Regions from separate parts of the Homo sapiens genome. Here region 1 is linked to region 2. Evidence: promoter capture Hi-C in human tissues and cell types (Jung and others, 2019). All regions are on one chromosome and are shown on one strand. The core of a region is centred on a gene start or on the middle of the fragment in contact, and the rest is flanking DNA. Distances in the headings are between cores, read along the strand shown.

The links. The method cuts DNA at HindIII sites, captures the fragments that hold promoters and counts their contacts. A contact is called where the count stands out against the background at its distance.
Region 1: a fragment that was not itself captured here is called in contact with the fragment with the promoter of RNASEH2C in region 2 in 1 of the 25 tissues and cell types used here (aorta).

What each region holds. Positions count from the first base shown.
Region 1 is chr11:65,116,598-65,121,227 of GRCh38, reverse strand. It overlaps FAU (FAU ubiquitin like and ribosomal protein S30 fusion), which reads left to right. Exons shown (of 5, transcript NM_001997.5): 4 at 192-247; 5 at 422-598. The coding sequence ends at 547. ZNHIT2 (zinc finger HIT-type containing 2) reads left to right here and starts at 3,527. Exons shown (of 1, transcript NM_014205.4): 1 at 3,527-4,630. The coding sequence starts at 3,575. RefSeq lists enhancers at 3,277-3,571, 3,564-4,107. The HindIII fragment of the contact is 3,455 bases long and covers 1-2,977 here.
Region 2 is chr11:65,719,337-65,724,082 of GRCh38, reverse strand. It overlaps RNASEH2C (ribonuclease H2 subunit C), which reads left to right and starts at 3,285. Exons shown (of 4, transcript NM_032193.4): 1 at 3,285-3,496; 2 at 3,666-3,841; 3 at 3,919-4,038; 4 at 4,274-4,746. The coding sequence starts at 3,325. The coding sequence ends at 4,300. It overlaps KAT5 (lysine acetyltransferase 5), which reads right to left. Exons shown (of 13, transcript NM_182710.3): 13 at 4,479-4,746. RefSeq lists an enhancer at 3,140-3,209 and a silencer at 3,360-3,599. The HindIII fragment of the contact is 7,035 bases long and covers 1-4,746 here.

The sequences.
Region 1 (4,630 bases), core at 1-2,500, 600 kb after region 2:
GTGCTCTATAAAATTAGAAGCTGGAAGATCCTGAAATGAAACTTAAGATTTCAAGGTCAAATATCTGCAACTTTGTTCTCATTACCTATTGGGCGCAGCTTCTCTTTAAAGGCTTGAATTGAGAAAAGAGGGGTTCTGCTGGGTGGCACCTTCTTGCTCTTACCTGCTGGTGCCTTCCTTTCCCACTACAGGTAAAGTCCATGGTTCCCTGGCCCGTGCTGGAAAAGTGAGAGGTCAGACTCCTAAGGTGAGTGAGAGTATTAGTGGTCATGGTGTTAGGACTTTTTTTCCTTTCACAGCTAAACCAAGTCCCTGGGCTCTTACTCGGTTTGCCTTCTCCCTCCCTGGAGATGAGCCTGAGGGAAGGGATGCTAGGTGTGGAAGACAGGAACCAGGGCCTGATTAACCTTCCCTTCTCCAGGTGGCCAAACAGGAGAAGAAGAAGAAGAAGACAGGTCGGGCTAAGCGGCGGATGCAGTACAACCGGCGCTTTGTCAACGTTGTGCCCACCTTTGGCAAGAAGAAGGGCCCCAATGCCAACTCTTAAGTCTTTTGTAATTCTGGCTTTCTCTAATAAAAAAGCCACTTAGTTCAGTCATCGCATTGTTTCATCTTTACTTGCAAGGCCTCAGGGAGAGGTGTGCTTCTCGGGTTGGTGGTATGTCCCCTAGGAGAACAGTGAGGCAGAAAAGGCAGAAGCCTTTGGTATGGGGGGAAGAAATGGTAAACTACAAGAGAAATTTCCTGTGAAGAAACAGCTACAGATCCTGGGGGGCTTCAGATGTAAAATTGGGGTTATTCCCTATCCTAAGTAACTTGATCAGTCCCCCCAGGTCATTCTTTTTCATCTTCTAAACAGAGAAGGTAGCAGGAATCACTGTGGTGAGAGGTTTGTTATGGAGGCAGCAATAGAAGGGATGGGTGGGGGAAGAGGTTTGTATAGAAGGTGAACCTGGCCGTTCCCTGAACTTGGTACCAGCTGTGGCCTTAGAGTCCAGGGCAGGAATCTGGTCTGCCTTGGTTTTAGAAGTAAATATTATGTTGGGAGCATGGCCTCGTTTGTACCTCTGTGACTGCCTGGCCGGACTTGGTAACCTAATCACATCTGTGATTGGATATAGTGAGGTTTCAGTGTTCCCAAAAGTTGGGTTACCTCTGGGGCTGATTCAGGGTTCTCTTCTGGCAACTGAGCCTCCCAGCACTTCTGAACCCCACTTACTCATTCAGCTAAAGTTTCTGGACCTGCCAGTTCTTGAGAAATAGCATCCAACAGGGTAAAGCCCTTGGGCTGTGGACTTTGACTGCCTGAGTTTGGACCTTCTTTTTCTTCCTACTCCATTTACTGGGTGGCTGGCCTTTGAACTAACTACTAATTTAATCTCTGCCATCTCCAGGGCTGCTGTGAGGGTTAAAGGATGTAAATCAACATCTGGCTTACAGTGAGTGTGTGAATCTTGGCTATTTTTGTCTCTGTGGTGTTAAAGACATGGTTTCTGCCTTCCAGCAGTTTAGAAAGGGGGAGGATGTGGACAGATACAATAGCATCCCAGAGAGGGCCTCTTTTTTTGTTTTTCTTTTTTCTTTATTTTATTTTATTGAGACAGAGTCTCGCACTGTCGCCAGGCTGGAGTGCAGTGGCACAATCCGAGCTCACTGCAACCTCAGCCTCCCGGGTTCACGCCATTCTCCTGCCTCAGCCCCCTGAGTAGCTGGGACTACAGGCATGTGCCACCACGCCCAGCTAATTTTTGTATTTTTAGTAGACATGGGGTTTCCCCATGTTGGCCAGGATGGTCTCGATCTCTTGACCTCGTGATCGCCCACCTCGGCCTCCCAAAGTACTGGGATTACAGCCATGAGCCACAGTGCCCGGCCTTTTCTTTTTTGTTTTTGAGACAAGGTCTCTCTCATCCAGGCTGGAGTGCAGTTGCACAATCATGGCTCACTGCAGCCGCCAACTCCTGGGCCCAGGTGATCCTACTCAGCCTCCAAAGTAGCTGAGGACTACAGGCATGCACCGCCACACCTGGCTAATTTTTTGTACTTTTTTGTAGAGACAGGGTTTTGCTATGTTGCCCAGGCTGGTCTTGAACTGGGCTCAAGTGATCCGCCCACCTTGGCCTCCCAAAGTGCTGAGATTACAGGTGTCAGCCGCTGTGCCCAGCCGAGAGGTCCTGTTTAAATGACGTGAGTGAGACCTGAGATGAACCAGTCAAGTGATCAGGTAGGGGAATATTTCAAGCCTAGAGGACTGTGTGAAGATGGGGAAGAGGTGATGTCTAGGGCTGGGGGCGGGCAGATCCTGCAAGGCCTTGTCAGCCATAGAGAGGAGTTTGGGTTTGAGTCCAAGTGCAATGGAGGGTCGCAGAAGGGTTTTGAGTAACAGATGGATCTCATCTGACTTGTGATCTAATTTCTCTGGCAGGTTTTTCTGGAGGGCTGGCAAGAAAGTTAGGAAAAACACTTAATGTGTTGTCATCCACATGAGGGGTCAGGAAGCTTAGACCACCAGTAGTAGCAGGGATGCAAAGAACACTCACAGTTTGGTTCATCACACCCCCCACTCCACCACAAGAGTGAGCTCTATTAGAACAGGGACCCCCGGCTCCCTTTGATGTGCATTGTGTTCTTGGCACCTAGAATGGGGCCTGCACTTAATAAGATGGATGAATAGTGGTATTTAATGAGAAGATACTTAATGAAAAGAAGAGGCAGTTTTGGAGGAAAAAAATCATAGGAGCTCAGATATTTCTTAAATGCTGCTTTCTATTTATCTTTTTGAGGTGGAGTTTCTCTCTGTGGCCCAGGCTCGCAGGCTGGAGAGCGGTGGCGCGATCTCGGCTAACTGCAGCCTCCACCTCCCGGGTTCAAGCGATTCCCCTGCCTCAGCCTCAGGAGTAGCTGGGACTACAAGCACCCGTCCCCCACGCCCGGCTAATTTTGTATTCTTAGTAGAGACGGGGTTTCTCCATGTTGGTCAGGCTGGTCTCAAACTCCTGACCTCAGGTCATCTGCCCGCCTCGGCCTCCCAAAATGCTGGGATTACCGGCGTGACCCACCGTACCTGGCCCTAACTGTCCTTTTATTTGTCTGTGTCCCCTAGTGCATTTTATTTGTCTGTGTCCAGCGCAGGGATGCATCGCCTCCCGTAGGCTTGGCACAATTAGTGGCCCAGAGTAGGTGCCTAGTAAAGATGGATTTATGCCACAGCACATTGTAGTGCTAAAAAGAGGGTTTTCTCTTTAGATGATCGGGCCACGTTTTGGTGTGACCACTAGGGGGAGACGTGGCACCGGCGAAGCGCTCGCCAGACCCATTTTTTCGCTCCTTGCGTCATCGCATAGGGCGGGGCTCGTACCTGACGCCCGGCTTCTGGGCCTGCTCTCGCCCTACTAGGGAAAGGGGTGGGGCTTGGCTTTCGGGCGTGGGCGGAAATTGCCGAGAATCCTCGGAAGCTTTGCGAAAACACAGCGCGCCGTCGGCCGCGCTGCGAACCGGAAGTAATCGAAGAAGCCCCGGAAGTTTCGAACTACCACCGGCGTGCGTTCGCAGGTAGATCGCGGTGCCAGTTGCCATGGAGCCGGCCGGGCCCTGTGGCTTCTGCCCGGCGGGGGAGGTCCAGCCAGCGCGTTACACCTGCCCTCGCTGTAATGCGCCCTACTGCTCGCTGCGCTGCTACCGGACGCATGGCACCTGCGCAGAAAACTTCTACCGTGACCAGGTGCTGGGAGAGCTCCGCGGTTGCAGCGCTCCTCCCAGCCGCCTAGCAAGCGCCCTACGCCGGCTGCGTCAGCAACGCGAGACCGAGGACGAGCCTGGGGAAGCAGGCCTCAGCTCCGGCCCGGCGCCCGGCGGCCTATCGGGACTCTGGGAGCGGCTGGCGCCGGGCGAAAAAGCTGCCTTCGAGCGGCTGCTGAGCCGCGGTGAGGCCGGGCGGCTGCTGCCTCCATGGCGGCCGTGGTGGTGGAACCGCGGAGCCGGACCGCAGCTTCTGGAGGAGCTGGATAATGCCCCGGGTAGTGACGCCGCGGAGCTGGAGCTCGCCCCTGCGAGGACCCCGCCGGATTCTGTGAAAGATGCCTCCGCCGCGGAGCCCGCGGCCGCCGAGCGGGTTCTTGGAGATGTCCCGGGGGCCTGCACGCCCGTCGTACCCACCCGCATCCCCGCGATAGTCAGCCTGAGCCGCGGCCCAGTCTCGCCGCTCGTGCGCTTCCAGCTGCCCAATGTGCTGTTCGCCTACGCGCATACTCTCGCCCTGTATCACGGCGGTGACGACGCGCTGCTCTCTGACTTCTGTGCCACACTGCTCGGCGTTTCCGGAGCCCTGGGTGCCCAGCAAGTCTTCGCCTCTGCGGAAGAAGCCCTGCAGGCGGCAGCCCACGTGCTGGAAGCAGGCGAGCACCCGCCGGGGCCCCTGGGCACACGAGGGGCTATGCACGAGGTCGCCCGCATCCTGCTGGGCGAGGGCCCGACCAACCAGAAAGGCTACACGCTGGCAGCACTGGGGGACCTGGCACAGACCCTGGGCCGTGCCCGGAAACAGGCCGTGGCTAGAGAAGAGCGAGATCATCTTTACCGGGCCCGGAAAAAGTGCCAGTTCCTCCTGGCCTGGACCAACGAAAATGAGGCG
Region 2 (4,746 bases), core at 2,036-4,535:
GTGTGTGCGCGTACACACGCGTTTTAACCTCTAATGAATTAAAGGATCTAGGCAATGATCATCTATGGCTGCTAACCTCACAAAAAGAGGGAAAAACACAAAACCACCCATGAAGTAGTCTTGCCCTCTCCCCTCCCCAAAGAATCGAATTAAGCTTCTAGATGTAATTACAGAAAATACAGGTATAGATTACCTTGACACTATAGGAATGCAATTACTAATATCCAGACTACAGGAAACTTGCAAAACCAAAAACATAAAAATAAAAAATAAGATCCAACATCTACTCCCAATTTTTAAAAGCTCTTAGTAGTACAGCTTTAATGAGACATATATAACAAGTCAAAAGGCAGTTTCATGATTATTGGTGAAACAGCAGAAGCACTCCCGTGAAAGTTTCAGGAAAAAGACAATGTTGTCCTCTGATACCAGTAACATTTGAGAGACTGTTCTGCAAGTACTGGCCAAGGCAATTAGAAAAGAAAACAAATTACAAGGTGTAATGAAAAAAAAAAAACAAAAAACAAAAAACAAAAAGAAGATGTAATGGTGAGGTAAAAATTATTATTTGAAAGAGAGGTGACTAATTCTGGGGATCTTAAAATAAAATAAAAATCATTAGGAACAAAATAATTCAGTCGATATCTAGTTTAAAAATGGACATATAAAAATCAACAGGTTTGCTATAGACAAGGGGTCTGAAAACTATGGCCTGTGGTTCAAATCCAACCCCTTGTCTGTTTCTGCAAAGATTTACTGGAACACAACAACGCTCATTCATTTATGTATTGTCTATGACTGCTTTCATGCTATAACGGTGAAGTTGAGTAGCTGCGACAGAAGCCATAAAGTCCACAAAACCTAAAATATTTACTATTTGACCCCTTACAGAAAAAGTTTGCCAACCCCTGCTATAGATTAAAAAGAAAATCAGTTAGAAAATAAAATGAAAAAAATAAAAGCCCCAATTTTGGTTTTTAGAGAAAGGGTCTCCCTCCGTAACCCAGGCTGGTGTGCAGTGGTGCAATCGTGACTCGAACGGCAGCCTCAAACTCCTTGGCTTAAGTGATCTTCCCACCTTAGCTTCTTGAGTAGCTGGGACTACAGGCACATGCCACTGTGCCCCACTCATGTTTAAAAAAATTTTTTTCTTTGTAGGAACGGAGTCTTGCTATGTTTCCCAGGCCGGTCTCAAACTCCTGGCTTCAAGCAATCCTCCCCCATCTTGGCCTCCTAAAGCACTGGAATTACAGGTGTGAATCATCATGCCCAGCCCCTCAGTTCTTAATAGAAACAATTATTAATATAAGCTAAGAAGAAATAAACTTTACAATATGTATTAATAGCTATTATATATGAACAAAACCTCACAACTGTACAGATATCCAAGGAGATGTGAATAAATTGAATTATGTCTTTCCTGATAGAAAACTAAAGCAAGCCTTTTTCTAAATTAATCTGCCACTCTAGTGAAAGAGCACCAGGAATACATCTGCAGTTGAACAAATTGGGTATATTACTCCTGCACTCTGGGGAATTTCAATAAGAGGGTGCTAGAAAGGACTTATAGGAGGATTTGTGCCCATGTTCAGTGATTTCAGTCAGGGTTTAGGGAAGCCAGGCTTCTCTCTGGCTTGGATGCTGTCAGAGGTGGGGGTATGTCTATGACGGACTATCTTAATGAGTCTTGCCCAGAAGGAGAGAAGATTAGTTGGAGGCTAATGCTGTAATTGGTAAGGAAACAACAGTCACTCTCTTATGGGAGAAAGAGGGATGTTTCATGCCTTTTGTGGTTTGGACAGTGTTCACCTTTGCCAGCATTCAGATGTGACGATGGAGTGGTTCTGTTTCTGTCTTGCTCCCTCACGGTCACAGAGTGACCTTGTCCGATGCTGATGTTCTCTGAAATTGTTTATATTCAACAGAATACCAAGGCCAGCTCCCAGATGTGCAGGGATGTATAAATTAAACGCAATTTAAATCTAAATTTCCAGTTTTGTGTTTGTTTTATGTGAGAACTTGAAAAAATATATCTAAGTTGGGTGTCTGAACAAATAAACATTAGAGAAGAGCTGAGAAACCAAAGAGAGAAAATTGTGAAATCTAAAAGACTGAAAAGTGTTGATAAATTTGACTACAAAAAATTAGTCTTTGTCCTGGGTGCAGTGGCTCACGCCTGTAATTCCAGCGTGATTTGGGAGGCCAAGGTGGGCAGATCACTTGAGTCCAGGAGTTCAAGACCAGCCTGGGCAACATGGCAAAACTCCACCTCTACCAAAAATACAAAAATTAGCTGCGTGGTGGCGCAGGCCTGTGGTTCCAGCTACACAGGAAGCTGAGGATGGGGGATGGATTAAGCCTGGGAGGTCGAGGCTGCAGTGAGCCAATCAAACCACTGCACTCCAGCCTAGGCGAGTGAGACCTTGTCTAAAAGACCAAACAACCACAAAAATAAGTCCTTGTCCAGCAAAAATCACCTTTACACAGGTTTGCAAGACAGACCACAGATAAAACATTTTCAATGCATTTAAGAAAAGGGTTGATGTCCCTAATAAACTAAAAATGAATAACCTACCTACTAATCAATATAAAAAGAGTACTTTTCAGAATCGTTTTAGATTTTTACAACGACATGTGCCATTAAAAACAATAAAAGAAAAAAACCCGGCTGGGGGCGGTGTCTCACGCCTGTAATCCAAGTACTTCAGAAGGCCGAGGCTGGAGGATCGCCTGAGGTCAGGAGTTCGAGACCAGCCTGGCCAACATGGCGAAACCCAGTCTCTACTAAAAATACAAAAATTAGGTGGGCATGGTGGTGTGCGCCTGTAATCCCAGCTACTCCGGAGGCTGAGGCAGGAGAATCGCTTGAACCCGGGAGGCGGAGGTTGCAGTGAGCTGAGACCGTGCCTGGCACTCCAGCCTGGGCGACAAAACGAGACTCTGTCAAAAAAAAATAATAATAAATAAGAAAAAGAAAGAAAGAGGGAAGGACGGGAAGGAAGGGAAGGGAAGGGGGGAAGGAAGGGAGGCAGGGAGGAGGGGGAGGGGGGAGGGGGAAGGAGGGGGGAGGGGGAAGGAGAGGGGGAGAGGGGAGGGAGGAAAGAGGGGAGGGGGGAAGGAAGGAAGGAAAAAAACAAAACACAACTGGAAAACCCTAGGACTTGAACCCAGGGAAAGCGTTAGGGGGTAAGGGGACTACACTTCCCGTGAAGCTCCGCGGCGGCTTCCCGTGAGGCCCCGCGGAGGCTTCCTGAGAGGTCCTGCGCGCTTTCCGCGCCAGCTTCAGTGTCAGCTCGCGAGCCCTGGCGTCGCGTAGGAGGGAGGATGGAGAGCGGCGACGAAGCGGCCATCGAGAGGCACCGCGTCCACTTGCGCTCCGCCACATTGCGCGACGCCGTACCCGCCACACTGCATCTGCTGCCCTGCGAGGTTGCGGTGGACGGGCCCGCCCCGGTGGGGCGCTTCTTCACGCCCGCCATCCGCCAGGGCCCCGAGGGTGAGCCCTGCGGCCGGACTACGGCTCCCGGCAGCCCCCGCGCCGGCCTGCGCGCTTCTCATCGCCTGGGCTCCTGGGGATCGTGGTCCGTCCGGAGGTGGCGGGAGGGCAGCTCCGGGCTCGACCCAGCGTGGGTCCTGCCTGAGGCCCTTTGCGCCTCCCGCTCCAGGACTCGAAGTGTCGTTTCGGGGCCGCTGTCTACGGGGAGAGGAGGTGGCGGTGCCGCCTGGCCTCGTGGGATACGTGATGGTGACAGAAGAGAAGAAGGTGTCGATGGGGAAGCCAGACCCCTTGCGGGATTCCGGGACTGACGACCAAGAGGAGGAGCCGCTGGAGCGGGACTTCGTGAGCAAAGGGATAGGGTTGAAAGGGGGTGCGGGCGGGAGCTGTAGTCCCGATGCTGAGCCAGGCCCCTTCCCCAGGACCGCTTCATTGGAGCCACTGCCAACTTCAGCCGCTTCACCCTGTGGGGTCTGGAGACCATCCCTGGCCCGGATGCCAAAGTGCGTGGGGCCTTAACTTGGCCCAGCCTTGCGGCAGCGGTGAGTAGACGAGGAGTTCCGTCTTGCCCCCGGGTGGATGGGCTGGGGAGCACAATTGCGCAGACGGAGCCTGGAGGATTCTACTGGGTAGTGTGTGGGAAGCGTAGCTCCCTGACCACTCTTCCTAGCATGTCTAGAAGCGGTTATTCTGAACAGCTGGGTCCTTCCTCGGGTATGGGGGCCAGCTTGCCGCCCTGTCTTACAAGTCCAACAGTAGAGGCGACTCCTGTTGCAGATTCACGCACAGGTGCCCGAGGACTGAGAACCAGAGCTTGAAATTCAAAGCTGCGATCCCTTCACAGCAGTAAACCAGCTCTTTGGAACCGATTCCATCACCCCAATAAAGGAGCTCTTCACAGCACCTGTGAGTCTGGGCGCCTTAGAGCCCCTAAGCCAGCATGGGCCCTTTCCCCCTCCCCACCAAGAACTTTGCATGGCTCTGGCATATAGAAACAATTTATTGCCGGGGGCAATAGGGGTAAGAGAAGCCAGAAATTTTTGCAGCCAGCACCCACCCCACCCCCAACTTCTACTTTACAAAAGAAATTTTTACAATCACCAGCCCTCTGTACAGAGCTCCCCCATCCGGATCCCTTCTCACTGTACACAGCTGCCTGGCTCCCTCTGGTCCCTGCTTCAGAGGAGGCCTGGGCCTGTGGCCAGCTGACCTTGGAGTTGGTCTGAGCCCGGAGCTCGCCTTGGTGCTGG